Regions from separate parts of the Homo sapiens genome. Here regions 1 and 3 are each linked to region 2. The links are contacts of gene promoters, found by promoter capture Hi-C in blood cells and fetal thymus (Javierre and others, 2016). All regions are on one chromosome and are shown on one strand. Each heading gives the region's core, a stretch centred on a gene start or on the middle of the fragment in contact. The rest is flanking DNA. Distances are from core to core; before and after follow the strand shown.

What was found. Contacts are between HindIII fragments. The CHiCAGO score rates a contact against its expected background, and 5 or more counts as called.
Region 1: a fragment that was not itself captured here is called in contact with the fragment with the promoter of MKKS in region 2 in 3 of 17 cell types (total B cells, non-activated CD4 T cells and naive CD4 T cells); the score reaches 11.4 in total B cells.
Region 3: a fragment that was not itself captured here is called in contact with the fragment with the promoter of MKKS in region 2 in 3 of 17 cell types (non-activated CD4 T cells, total B cells and naive CD4 T cells); the score reaches 12.0 in non-activated CD4 T cells.

Annotation. Positions count from the first base shown.
Region 1 is chr20:16,577,304-16,581,204 of GRCh38, reverse strand. It overlaps LOC124904875 (a long non-coding RNA gene), which reads right to left. Exons shown (of 2, transcript XR_007067539.1): 2 at 1,846-2,326. Among named protein-coding and RNA genes, the nearest start is that of KIF16B, 5.8 kb to the right of the region's middle. The HindIII fragment of the contact is 1,688 bases long and covers 1,165-2,852 here.
Region 2 is chr20:10,432,090-10,436,362 of GRCh38, reverse strand. MKKS (MKKS centrosomal shuttling protein) reads left to right here and starts at 2,141. Exons shown (of 6, transcript NM_170784.3): 1 at 2,141-2,255. It overlaps SLX4IP (SLX4 interacting protein), which reads right to left and starts at 1,058. Exons shown (of 8, transcript NM_001009608.3): 1 at 910-1,058. LOC128706665 reads left to right here and starts at 2,141. Exons shown (of 3, transcript NM_001394148.2): 1 at 2,141-2,255. It overlaps LOC128706666, which reads left to right and starts at 2,141. Exons shown (of 3, transcript NM_001394149.2): 1 at 2,141-2,255. RefSeq lists enhancers at 905-954, 1,115-1,344, 2,235-2,294, 4,245-4,273. The HindIII fragment of the contact is 4,604 bases long and covers 1,043-4,273 here.
Region 3 is chr20:16,724,899-16,729,369 of GRCh38, reverse strand. No RefSeq gene overlaps it. Among named protein-coding and RNA genes, the nearest start is that of SNRPB2, 2.9 kb to the left of the region's middle. RefSeq lists an enhancer at 1-233. The HindIII fragment of the contact is 4,524 bases long and covers 472-4,471 here.

The sequences.
Region 1 (3,901 bases), core at 759-3,258, 6.1 Mb before region 2:
ATATGACATTCGGCAAACTTCTCCATATATTTTCATCTGGTGTATTTCTTCTCTATGAGTCATTCATGTACAGAGAAGTCTTAGTGCCTTGGGGATCTTCAGGAACATTACACACCTCTCAGCAACAACTTTGGAACACCCAGTTTCGTACTAATGCTCCTTTTTGAGCATTTGAATGATTTCTGCAGCATAATTTTTGTAGCAATAATAGTGAACCATAAAAACTCAATGGCCTCATTATCAAGTCATCTGCACAGGGCCAATTGATTTGGATGATATCAATTCTCTTAATCCTTCCCTGGAGTGCAGTGGGGCAGAGTCCTGCTTGCTTATTTTACACAGAAGAAAAACTGCTGCAGCTCCTAGGCACCCCAGCTTTGTTCCTGGAAATACGAGGAAATGCAAAGGTGTGGCATCCCTACTGGCAATCTACTGTATTCCCATGTGGGCATGGTGAAATCTCCTTCACATAGATTGCAGGAGCACCTCCCTGACTGCTGAGGTCCTGTGGAAAGGGAACTTGAACACCATCCGGAATATAGGAATTTTTTTATGGGGGGAATGGTGAATAGACAGACAGAGTTCATTTCCAGATTTTTATTCACTCTAAGCTTTTTCAGATTCAGTGTCTCTGGGGTGCGCATTGTTGAGCATCTTTACACTTCAGCCTGCTGCCATCAAACCCTGGACTTTATCCCAGAGCTACAAATGAGATCTCAGCCCTGGAGTTGTCTGTCATGAGCCTCGGGGCCTGCTTTGCTGTGACTGGACACTCTACCATCTGTCTGTCAGCTTTGAAGCGCTTCCCTCTTTTGTCCCAGGAATGCAATTAAGCAAGTTACTTGGAGCTGTGCCTTCAATAATCTTACTGGAGGTTTACACAGTCATAGGGTGAGTTAACAGGGTAAGGGTTTAATCAGTGAGTTGGATGAGGAAAGTATTTTGTTTCTTGGCTTAGTTTTGCATGGTAGCATTTGTCTCCTTATGTAAACAGAGTGCAAGTTACTATCCTGCCATCTTCTATACCGTATTGAATTACCAATGTAATTGTAATCAGCACTTCTGGAAAGTGCTGATGGCCTATTTTGTACTTGTTTGTGTTAATCAATGTTAATTACAAAGCAAGCACAGGGGTTAACGAATTATAATGGGCTTAATTAAGCTTGACAGTAACAAATGGCATAACCTTTATGTTATGGCCTGGTTAAAGTAACAAAAAAAAAAAAGGGACAAAATAGACCAGAAAATCATCACATAGGAATCCATATTCATATACTGATTACCTACAGGAACAGAATAGTGTAAGGAATTTATTGGTTTTGCTAATTGTCAAGTTAAATTTTTACCACACTGGCACTACTAGGAGTACAGAGAACTATTAGGCCTGACTTTTACCCTCAAAGAATTTGTAATTTTGTTGGAAAAGAGACACAGAAAACCAAGTTTTAAAATGGTCCAATGAGTCACAAGTGAGTGATGCCTACCATGTTACAAAGCATTTGGAAGAGACAGGGATCACCGTGGGTTGGTGCAGTGGAGGAAGACTAGGGAAGGTAGAACTCAAAGAAAGAACTCGATGGAGGAGAGGAGGGAAGTAGGCATTCTTACTGGATGCATGGGTGGAGCAAAGGTTTGGAGGTAGGAATGCAAATACTGTGTTCAGTGAGCATGCATGCTTCTGTGAATCTGCTTCATTGATTTAAGTGTCACAGAGGGGTAAGGAAAGTGTTGTCCACAGTCACACTACCTGGTCTGAGCCTTGATCTCCCCGTGTATGGAGTAAGAAATGACCACAAAGACACTTCCGGCGCCCAACTACAGCTGCAAAAGCCCTTGAGCAGGGCCTTTTCTCATTAGATGAGATAGGATGTATTTGGATGCAAGCAATAACACACACACCCTAAACAGAATGGCTTCCATAACAATCATCTGTTTACTGCTCCTAAGTCTACTGGTCAGCTTGGTTGTTCCGCTGGTCTGGACGGGCTCAGTTGTTCTGGGCTGTTCTCACTCATACATCTGATGACTTGGTGGAGGTTGGCTGGTGTGAGGTGGCCCCACTCACATGTCTGGTGGCTGCCTGGCTATTGGTTGCAGTGCTGGATTTGACTGGGACACACCAACATTCAGTAGGTTAGCCTGGGCTTGCTTACATGACAGCAGCAAGTTTCCTAGAGCCAGGGTTAGGAAGCATGCAAGGCCTCTGAGGCCAAGGCTTAGAAACAACATGAAGCCAATTCTGCTGCATTCTGTGTGCCAAGGGAAGTTCCAGGGCCAGCCATATTGAAGAGGTGGAGAAAGAGATTCTACTTCCCATTGAGGGGAGCTGCAAAATGACATCGCAAGGTATGAGTCCAGGGAAGAGAAGCATTTACAACTATTTTTAAACTTTACACTGTGCTTCAGGTAAAGAGGCTTTCTCACTATTCCAGAAGCAGGACTCGCTTTTCCAACACTAAACATTTGTTCAAGGAATTTCCTCTGCTTTAGAAGTCACCTCCTCACCATTTTCTGGGTTCAAATCTGTCCCTCCTGCAAGACCGATCTCCAAAACTAATTCATCCATGAAACTTTTCCCAATCACTTTAAATAAACATGGTTTCTCACTCTTTCGAAGTTAAAATGAGGCCACAGACTCTACAGTCTATCAGTTCTGAACTATTTATGACCACATAGTTTTATATATATGGTTGCATACAGTTATATGCAATTGAAAACAATCATTTTTATCTTAGTATATAAAATGACTATGATTTAGGGTGATAGCGTCTATTAAATTGAATCTAATGTGATTTCTTTATTCACTTTTGCTATAAAAGAAAGCAGGCATTCATGGTTACCTGCCTAAAGCTTTACTAAAATTACTTAGTACGATTTTTGCAATTATCTTTACTGTGATTTTGGAGCTCAGATTTTCTCTCTAGCCCCAAAGTATACTTTTTCAAATTATTCCTGCTTTTAATGTTTAGTATTTTAGAAGATTCTAAATATACTTTAAATTTTGTGACTTAGAAAATGAAAATCGTAGGCCAGACGCAGTGGCTCACACCTGTAACCCCAGCACTTTGGGAGGCCAAAGCAGGTGAATCACTTCAGGCCAGGAGTTTGAGACCAGCCTGGCCAACATGGTGAAATCCTGTCTCTATTAAAAATACAAAAATTAGCCAGGTGTGGTGGCAGGCACCTGTAATCTCAGCAGCTTGGGAGGCTGAGGCAGGAGAATCACTTGAACCCGGGAGGTGGAGGTTGCAGTGAGCCAAAATAGCGCCACTGGACTCCAGCGTGGGGGACAGAACAAGACTCTGTATCAAAAAAAAAAAAAAAAAAAAAAAAATTGGTGCTGGGTTTGGACTTGGTATCTGTGATTCCTGTCTCTGGTACTACTATTTATTATACATTTATTTGAAAACCAGGAAAACACTTGTTTTTCTCATTGGCTCACCACATAGCTCTTAAATTCAACTTAAGTCCCTTGGTGTAAGGCACTCCTGTAGGAGACACTAAGTGTATCATGTGATATAATGCTTCTGGTGAGTGCTTCTAGCACATAGGGAAATCGATGGGTTTATGAGGTGTCAGTTATATCCTTCGTCCCAATTTAAGCGTGCCAGTCTGATGTTCATCAAGATTTTTTAAAAGTCATGTTTGTAAGAAAGTAAATCAATTTTATTCCTCAGAGGCTAGGATGAAGAAAAAGCACAGCTCATGAGAAATACAGTATTTTTCTTCTGATAACAGTATTCCCTGATGATTCAAATATTTTGCGGTGGAGTGAACATTCTATTACAGTGCTATTTTGCGTGGAAATGAAGAAGCTAAGACTCAGAGAGCTTAAGTCACTCAAAAGTTTTCGTCCATTAAAAAAGTTTTCAAAATAGAGATTAAAAAAAGATTTGAAAAA
Region 2 (4,273 bases), core at 892-3,391:
AAGAAAGAAAGGGCTGTATCTTTAGCCCATGCCCTGAATCAATGTTCCTTGAACTTTAAGGTACACTTCTTGAGGAAGATTCTGATTCAGCAGCTCTGGGGTGAGAGTCATGAAGTGTAATTCTAACAAGCTCCCAGGGATGCTGATGCTGGTGGTAGGTGAAATGAACTTGGAGCAACAAGGCCCTAAGTAACTGGAATATTAGTTTTAACGCTAGCCAACTGGCTTACAAATATCGTTATGTCTAGGATCCAAGAAGTAAGTGTCAATACCATTAATTCCTACACCCGGCCAAAAAAATTAAAAACTAAAAATAAAAAAAAATAGTTCAGGGGAAGGAGAAAGCAAATACTTGTTTATACAGTCTAGCAGTGCTAAGAACCATAAAATACTGTTATTTGTCTCAACCTAGTAGATGTCAAGGTGATAAAATGTAGGCTCCATGAGTTAATGGATTTTTTTTAGCTAACTCCTGAATCCTTATGGCCTAGCACAAATTAGGTACTCAAGAAATGCAATGAATAAATGAATGAATGGGAAGTATATACAAACGCAATCTGTATTTACCTCACATCTCCAAAAATGTCTGGGAAGGGGGAGGTATTTGTACTGCTGGATGCAGGTAGCCATGATTTGATACAAATACCTGGCCCATCTACTGCATTCCCTTTGTGCAAAGACAGTTAACTTTCCTGAATAATATCTCCACCGTAATGCCCATGCTCATGGCATCCTGATGTTTAGCAACTTTTTGGCTTTTTGAAAACAATGAAGAAAGGTGGAAGTACAGGGAGAAGGATTCGGAAAAGTCTCAAAAAATCAAAGCCAAAAACCAGGAGGGAGGAGATGGGCAAACAGTTCAGTTCACTTGAAGGAACATCTGAGGTTGTCAGAGGTCCATGTGCTTACCTATGATGGTGGCGGGGTTTGGGCTCGGGCTTTATATGTTTTGTTACTGTCCAGGGTCACTGGCGGAGTAGTACCTGGCTGTGGAAACTCGGACTACACAGGTAGCCGGAACTGCAGCCAACCTTCAGAAGCTTAAGGGAAGCACTTTCGCGCTTACTTCCTCCTTCCCAGGGTCTCCGCGCGCGTTTGGGAACTCAGCCGCCGCCCAAACACAAAATGATCTGGGCAGCTTCGCTGCAGGATTGAGGCCACAGCCAGGATTTAAGATGGCAGCGAAACACTTCGATGGCCCGTGGAATCTGCCCAAAAGAAAAATGGCCTCTGTTCAGAATATCGCGGCTTTCAAAGTGGGCCCAAAACAAAAATGGCGCCGGACGCAGGCTATTTTTAAAGGCTGGGACCCCAATGACTCTCATTAGCAAATAACGTATCATGGTAACTCACGGTGCTAGGCAGTTGAACTGACCGAGAGAAAAAAAAACGCTTTTCTGTGGTGTGTTTTCTTAACATTGGAAAATGACTAGCTCAAGAATGGAACATATATTCGGTGCGAAAGATTGTGAGAAAGGAAAGGTAGCTTTCACAGTGCCGGATAAATTTTAATAAAAATAGCCATGTTTGAACATAACTTCCTATATGTTTTTTAATGTTAAAAGAGAATAAAAGTTTTGTCCTGGAACCCAGAAGCAGGATGGGGAAATGCCGGGTGAATTATCTAATCTGTGAAGAGTACGAGCTGCGAAACTCCGCACTTCCCTGTAAGCCCTCAGGAAGGACTGAGGGCGGATGCTTTAGTAGAAGGCAACTAGCTCTCACGGCGCATGTCCGTTTTCCAAACCCGATCCCGGGAGTTACGGGAGAGTAAAAATCCTGATTTTCCAGACAACCGCACAGAGAGGCGGGATACTGGCGCTGAGCGACAAATCCAAGCGCTTTGTAATTGGTCATGTCAGGACAGAGAGCAGAGCGCAGTGGACTATTTCTTTCTTTCATTCAATAAATCATTGTCAAGCGCTCACCAAAAGGCAGAAGCTGTGCCATTTTGATATGTTATTTAAATTTTATGCGTTCTTTTAAAATTTCAGTTTCAACAATTTGCTGGAATATACGCTGAATAAACTTCGCTCCCCGTTTTTTCCGGTGACGGCCGCTGTTGGCTGGAGCTTCACGGAAAACCCGGAGAAGCGGAGTGGGGGCGGCCCGGCGTCGACCGCAGAGCTGCGCGTGCTCCGTGCCCTCGCGCGACGCGAAGGTTGTCGGGATCCGCGGCAGCAGCGGCTGCTTGAGATCTGTTTCTGGGGCCTCTGGCGGTGGCGGCCTGGGGCGGCGCGACGGCTGGTGCGCAGGTGAGAGCGCTGGGACTCTAGGTGGAAAAGCCCGCTTTGTGTCCGGCCGAAGAGAGGGGAAGGGGCTTGTAGGCGCCTCCCTCTCCACCCCCAAAGGTCACCGGTGTCCTCACTGAAGGATATTTGAGGGCGGGGACAAGGAGGAGGCTGGCTCTCTGTAGGAGGCGAAAGACCGACCTCTGAAATAGCTGCCGATGGTAAATGTTGCGGTCGGCACGGATGCGGGCGGCGAGGAGGTCTTCCCGCCGGTGGGGAGAGCTGGAGGAGTGGCGCCTCACCACGCTCCCACCTGCGCTGCCGCCTTCTACGCCGAACCTGTGACTCCCCGTCCCCTCCCTCGCTGGGAGGGGCCCCGTGTGCCCCTGACTGTCTGGAGGGTGCACGGTGTACCCCAGGCTGTCGGGAGGTGGGGGCCGCCCTCCGACGGCGTTAGAGACGTTGTGCAGCGTGGCCCTGCCAGCTACGTGAAAGCAGCCGCGGGGCTTGCAGGGCTGTGGACCTTGTAGGGATGACCCTCTAAGGTCATGCTCGTCTTCCTCCCCGATAAGACCATACCCAAATCCTGTTGCCGTTTCAGAGACTCAATATGACGGTTTCATTCATTCATTAACATCTTCAGTTTATCCATAAACAGATATACACGTGTCTACAGCACTGCCGAGTTAGTAGATACGGCAGTGACCAAGAGGGACTTGCACGGTCCTGACTCCATGTTCTAGTGATGGGGGAGAAACAATACGCTCCCTATCCATGAGTTCCGCATGTGTGAATTCAACCAACTGCGGATAGAAAATATTTTGGGGCGGCGGGGTTTGGTGGCTCACCCCTGTAACCCCGCACTTTAGGAGCCCGAGGCGGGCGGATCACTTGAGTCAGGAGTTTGGGGCCAGCCAGGCCAACGTGGCGAAACCCGGTCTCTGCTAAAAGTACAAAAAAATGAGCCGGGCGCAGTGGCGCACGCCTGTAATCCCAGCTACTTGGGAGGTTGAGGCAGGAGAATCGCTTGAGCCCTGGAGGCGGAGGTTGCGGTGAGCGGAGATCACGCCACTGCACTCCAGGTTGGGCGACAGAGACTCTATTTAAGAAAATAAATAAATAAAAACATTCTGGGGGAAAAAAGATGGTTACATCTGTACTGAACACGTGCAGACCTTTTTTCTTGTCATTCCCTAAACACTGCAGTGTAACAACTACTTACATAGCATTTAACGTTGTATTAGGTATTATAAGTAGCCTAGAGATTATTTAAGGTACATGGAAGGAGGTGGCAAGTTGTGTACAAAACTACACGATTTTTTTTTTTTTTTTTTTTTTTTTTGACAAAGAGTCTCGCTCTGTCGCGCAGGCTGAAGCTGGATCTCTGCTCACTGTGCAACCTCCGCCTCCCGGGTTCAAGCAATTCTCCCTGCCTTAGCCTCCGGAGAAGTTTGGGATTACAGGCACCCGCCACTGCACCTGGCTAATTTTTGTATTTTTTAGTAGAGATGGTGTTTCGCCATGTTGGCCAGGCTGGTCTTGAACTCCTGACCTCAGGTGATCCACCCGCCTCGGCATCCCAAAGTGCTGGGATTACAGGCATGACCCACGGCGTCTGGCCTACTACACAATTTTTAAATCAGGGACCTGAGCATCTGGATTTGGGTATCCATCATGGGTCCTGGATGCAATCCCCCAAATACTGAGGGGTGATTGCACATTGATATTGAGCAAGATGTTTCTAGATTGTCCTAGGTTGGGTTTCCTGAGAATCAGACTCTGAGGAGATTTAGAGGCAGGACATTTACTAGAGAAGACTTTTTGGATGATTACCAAGGAAGAAAGGAAGCAGGATTGGGCAATAGAAAAAGTTAAGCTGCAGTGAAGTCTCAAGGATGTTCTCCACCAGTCCCACAGGAACTCTAGTGCTGGGTTGGCCCTTCAAAGTTGAAGAGAAGGGCCAGGCTTTTATACCCCTTGATTGATCTGTCGTTAGATGTCTGTTTCCCTGGAAAGGGCCTAACTTCAACTCTCTTCAGCCA
Region 3 (4,471 bases), core at 1,484-3,983, 6.3 Mb before region 2:
TTTCTTCCAACAAAAGGTCTAGATTTTTCTAGGGTATTCTAAGGAGTTAGTATTTATGCCAAGCTGAATGGGAGTTCCCAAAGTGCATGCATTCATTCATCCATCCATTCATCAGATGTCTGTAAAGCATCACCTGGAATATGAAATGGTTGTTAAGAGTCAACTGGAACCTAATCTTGTACCCTCTGCTTAACTAATCTCTCTGACCTTCACTTTTTTCATCTGTAAAATAGGGATCCTAATAGTACCTCCTTCTAGTTGTTGTAAGCATTAAATGAGCTAAAATAAATGTAAAGTGATTGGCACATTGTCAGACACAATAAATGCTCAAAAATGTTATTTCTGAATTCTGGCTATAACTTGGTTCTACTGGTGAGGCAGGTAGCTGTCAAATAAGTTGGTTTTATCAGCTGGGAATTTTTATTTTTTAAAAACACCCAAAGTTGCAACAACTTGAAAATAATATAAGCTTTTTAAGGGTGGGGTTTTTGTCTGCTCTGTTCACTCAAGTACCCTTAGTAATGGGAAAAGTGACTGATAATTAATATGCATTGGATAATTCAATGAATGACATGGAAAACTAGGCAACAGTAAAACAAATATGCTTTGAACATGCACCTGAGTGTAGAGAATGTTAAGGGATCACAGAAAAGCATCGTTTTATTATATAGATCTAAAACTAGAAGAAATGGCTGAGTGTAGTAGCTCACACCTGTAATCCTAGCATTTGGGGAGGCTGAGACAGGAGGACTGGTTGAGTCCAGGAGTTCAAAATCATCCTGGGCAACATAGTGAGATCTCATCTCTAAAATAAATAAACCAATGAGAAGAAATGTCCTATCTCAGTCAAAGAATTATATCTTTAACAAATTAAAAGAGAATATAAACTTAATATAAACAATTTCTAAATAACAAAGGACAAGCTGTTTTGCATATTACTATGAGCATCTCAGCAATTAGTTCTGTTTGATAATAATGAGGATGGCTACACTACTGAGAATAAACTATACTCTGTATTGTATAAGGGGATCTAGCCAAGAGTTGATAACTGTTAAAAGAGAATAAGATGTGATTATACAAAAACACTCCAACCTGGGAAGAAAATACCACAAGAAACACAGAGGCCTGAAGACAGACTGCATGTTGTGTTCTATTAACAATTAAATTACAGCTATTGTACATTACACTGTGAGAAGGAAATCATCCATTGCCAACTCAGCCGCAATGGTCTGCATGCACTTTTCCAGGTTCTTCTAAAAAGAGCCAGTGCATTTTCCTGTCCTTGGGCAGTCACTCTGGGCATTCCAATAACCCGTTAATGATTCTCAGTGGTTTCCTGAACGATTTGAGAAGCCAGTTATTGAGAACAGTACAGGAAGGGAATGATAAGGATCGAATAGCTTTTCTGGTTTTGTGAGAAACCTTGCATAGCCTGGCTATGTAACTATATTAAGAATATTATAGCAGCTAAACTATGGTCACATGTACTGTAAAACATCATCACTTTATAACCAGATCCACTTCTTGAGGGTGAGATCAGGAATCAGATGTCCAAAACTCACATTTTTAAAAACTAGAAGAGCAAATGAGTTTTGTTAGTTCTGCTCAGTCTGTTCTTTCACATTTGGGTTAGGTATCGTGATTTATTTTCCTGTGAAACAGGCTTTTTTTAATCGAGAGAAACAAGGAGGCAGCGTTATAACCACCCTATCCAAGTGTCATGTATTTGCAGATGATAAAACTTGCTTATTTTGGGAGTAGCAGAAAAATTACTACAAACAGTAGGGAATAAAACTGTGCCAAGATGTCTAAATTATAAGGAAGATAACTGAGGTGTCTCTTAGTGACTCTGAATACACATACATTTCCCTACCTTATCTGCACGTGTTTTATGTTTCTCATTAATTGTTTTTGGTATCTTGCTGCAGTAGTTTTAAGAAGGAGCCATGTATAAAGGAAAATGCACCATAAAACTGGTGGATAAATTTTGTCTTATTTATGTTACATAGAGTCACAAAATGTATGGCAATTCGTTTGTATCTTCTTTCTCTCCCCAGGTGGTGATTACATTAAGAAATGTATCTAGAGTGAAATTATTTTCACAACAAGCATTAAACAAATCTAGGCGTTATTGTTGAGCACCAAATCAGGTTTATGTTTTCCAGGGAGGTTGGGATAATGTTGACTGAAACTTCCTAAAAAGCACCACTCTCCCACCCCCAATTCAGGGAGGAAATAATTTTGTGCAATTTTCTTTCATTTTACTTAATTCTTACATTTCATTCTTTGTGGATACATTCTTGCTTTTAGGAATGAAAGAAACCCAAATATGACTATTGCCTCTGATGTTCACTACTGTATTAATGTTAAGAATAGTGTGTCTTTCACATGCAGCAAAATACCCTCTCCCCAGAATGGGTGATGTCTCAGATAGGCTATGAGAATGTGCACATTCCATAAAGTTTGGAAATGGTAGTTTTTCTTTGAGGACCTGATCATTAATCCAAAGAAGTGTGGGGAAAACCTGAACTTTTTTGGTGAACTTTTTGTGAGACATGTAGGTTGTGCTCAGTATTGTATCACCTGCCCTTCCCTAAAGGAGCTAAAGTAGCATCATACAACTGTCGTTCTCTTTGAGACTAGAAAATTAAGATTTCAGTCCCATGAGATGCTCCCATGAAATAAAATATTATGCACACACAACTTTTAAATATAATGGGTTTTGCTTCCCCTATGATTAATCCCTGTAATTTTTTTTGAGTCTTAAGCCTTAGGACAGTTTGAAAACACAAAATTTAAAAAGAACAGCTTTAAAAAAAAAAAAAGACTGTCAGGCCCTGATTGTGTAATTTCAAAAGTGATATATTGTTGATTTCTTGGGCATTCCCCAGATATCTTAATCCAGTGCTGAGAAGCTGCATTTGTAGCAAACTCCCGGATGATGCTGATGCTGCTGGTCCCATACCGCATTTTGGGTAGCAAGAACCTAAGCATTTCTTTTTTAAGAATGGTTGGGGTCGGGCGCGGTGGCTCAGTTTGTAATCTCAGCACTTTGAGAGGCCGAGGCAGGCGGATCACAAGGTTATGAGTTCGAGACCAGCCTGGCCAACACAGTGAAACCCTGTCTCTACTATAAATACAAAATTAGCTGGGCGTGGTGGCAGGCGCCTGTAATCCCAGCTATTCTGGAGGCTGAGGCAGGAGAATCGCTTGAACTCAGGAGGTGGAGGTTGCAGTGAGCCAAGATCATGCCACTGCACTCCAGCCTGGACAACAGAGTCAGATTCTGTCTCAAAAAAAAAAAAAAAGAAGAAAAAAAAGAATGGTTGGTAGGCCAGGCATGGTGGCTCATGCCTGTAGTCCTAGAGCTTTGGGAGGCTGAGGTGGGTGGATCACTTGAGGTCAGGAGCTTGAGACCAGCCTGACCAACATTGTGAAACCCCATCTCTATTAAAAAAATAAAAAATTAAAAAAAATATATATATACACACACAAAAATTAGTCTGGTGCCATAGTGCATGCCTGTAGTCCCAGCTACTTCAGAGGCTGAGGTGGGAAGGTGGGAGAATTGCTTGAACCTGTGAGGTGGAGGTTGCAGTGAGCTGAGATCACACCACTGCACTCCAGCCTGAGTAACAGAGCAAGACCTCATCTCAAAAAAAAAAAAAAGAAAGAAAAGAAAAAAGAAAAAAATGGTTGGTAGATTATTCTAGTATCAAACTGTAGTTATCTCTAGAGCCATAGAGATACTACCAGATACAGAATACTATCTTCCTTTTGAAACACAAATCAACTATTTCTTTCAAAGGAGCTCGTATTTATTTGAAACTTTATTTTAACTGTCTTCTACTGGGCATGTAGACATAAACCTGGAGAGAAAGAAAGTCTGGAATATTTATTCTTTTTAACAGGTGATTGCTTATTTGGGGAGCCCTGGGTCACTTTCTAATTTGTGGTAGTCATTTCAGCTCTTCACAAATACTGTGATTCTTGCTCCTTCCAGGCTCATGGAGGGCTTGCACTACTCTACATCCTTTGAAAATTGGCATGGCCAAGTCACTGCTTTGGCTAATGAATTGTGAGAGCATGAGACATGCATCACTTCCAAGTAGGAGCATCACAGGCCAGTGCACAATTTGCCAGGTGCCCTTTTTCCTGTCCTTGTGATCTTGGAAACATATTGCAAGATGGAACCTCTGTCAAGTGTAGGCACTAATGATTAAAGGACACCCTCCTCCTGCCCAACACACACACACACACACACACACACACACACACACACACACACACACAAATTCAAACTGGTCATGTAATAAAAGCAAGAAATAATTAACTGATATTTAGGGGATATTTGTTAATGCAGCATAGCCTAGCGCCTCCTGACTTTATACATTGATCAAAATCACCTCTGAGAAATAATTCTTGGCTGGGCGTGGTGGCTCACACCCAGCCTGTAATCACAGCACTTTGG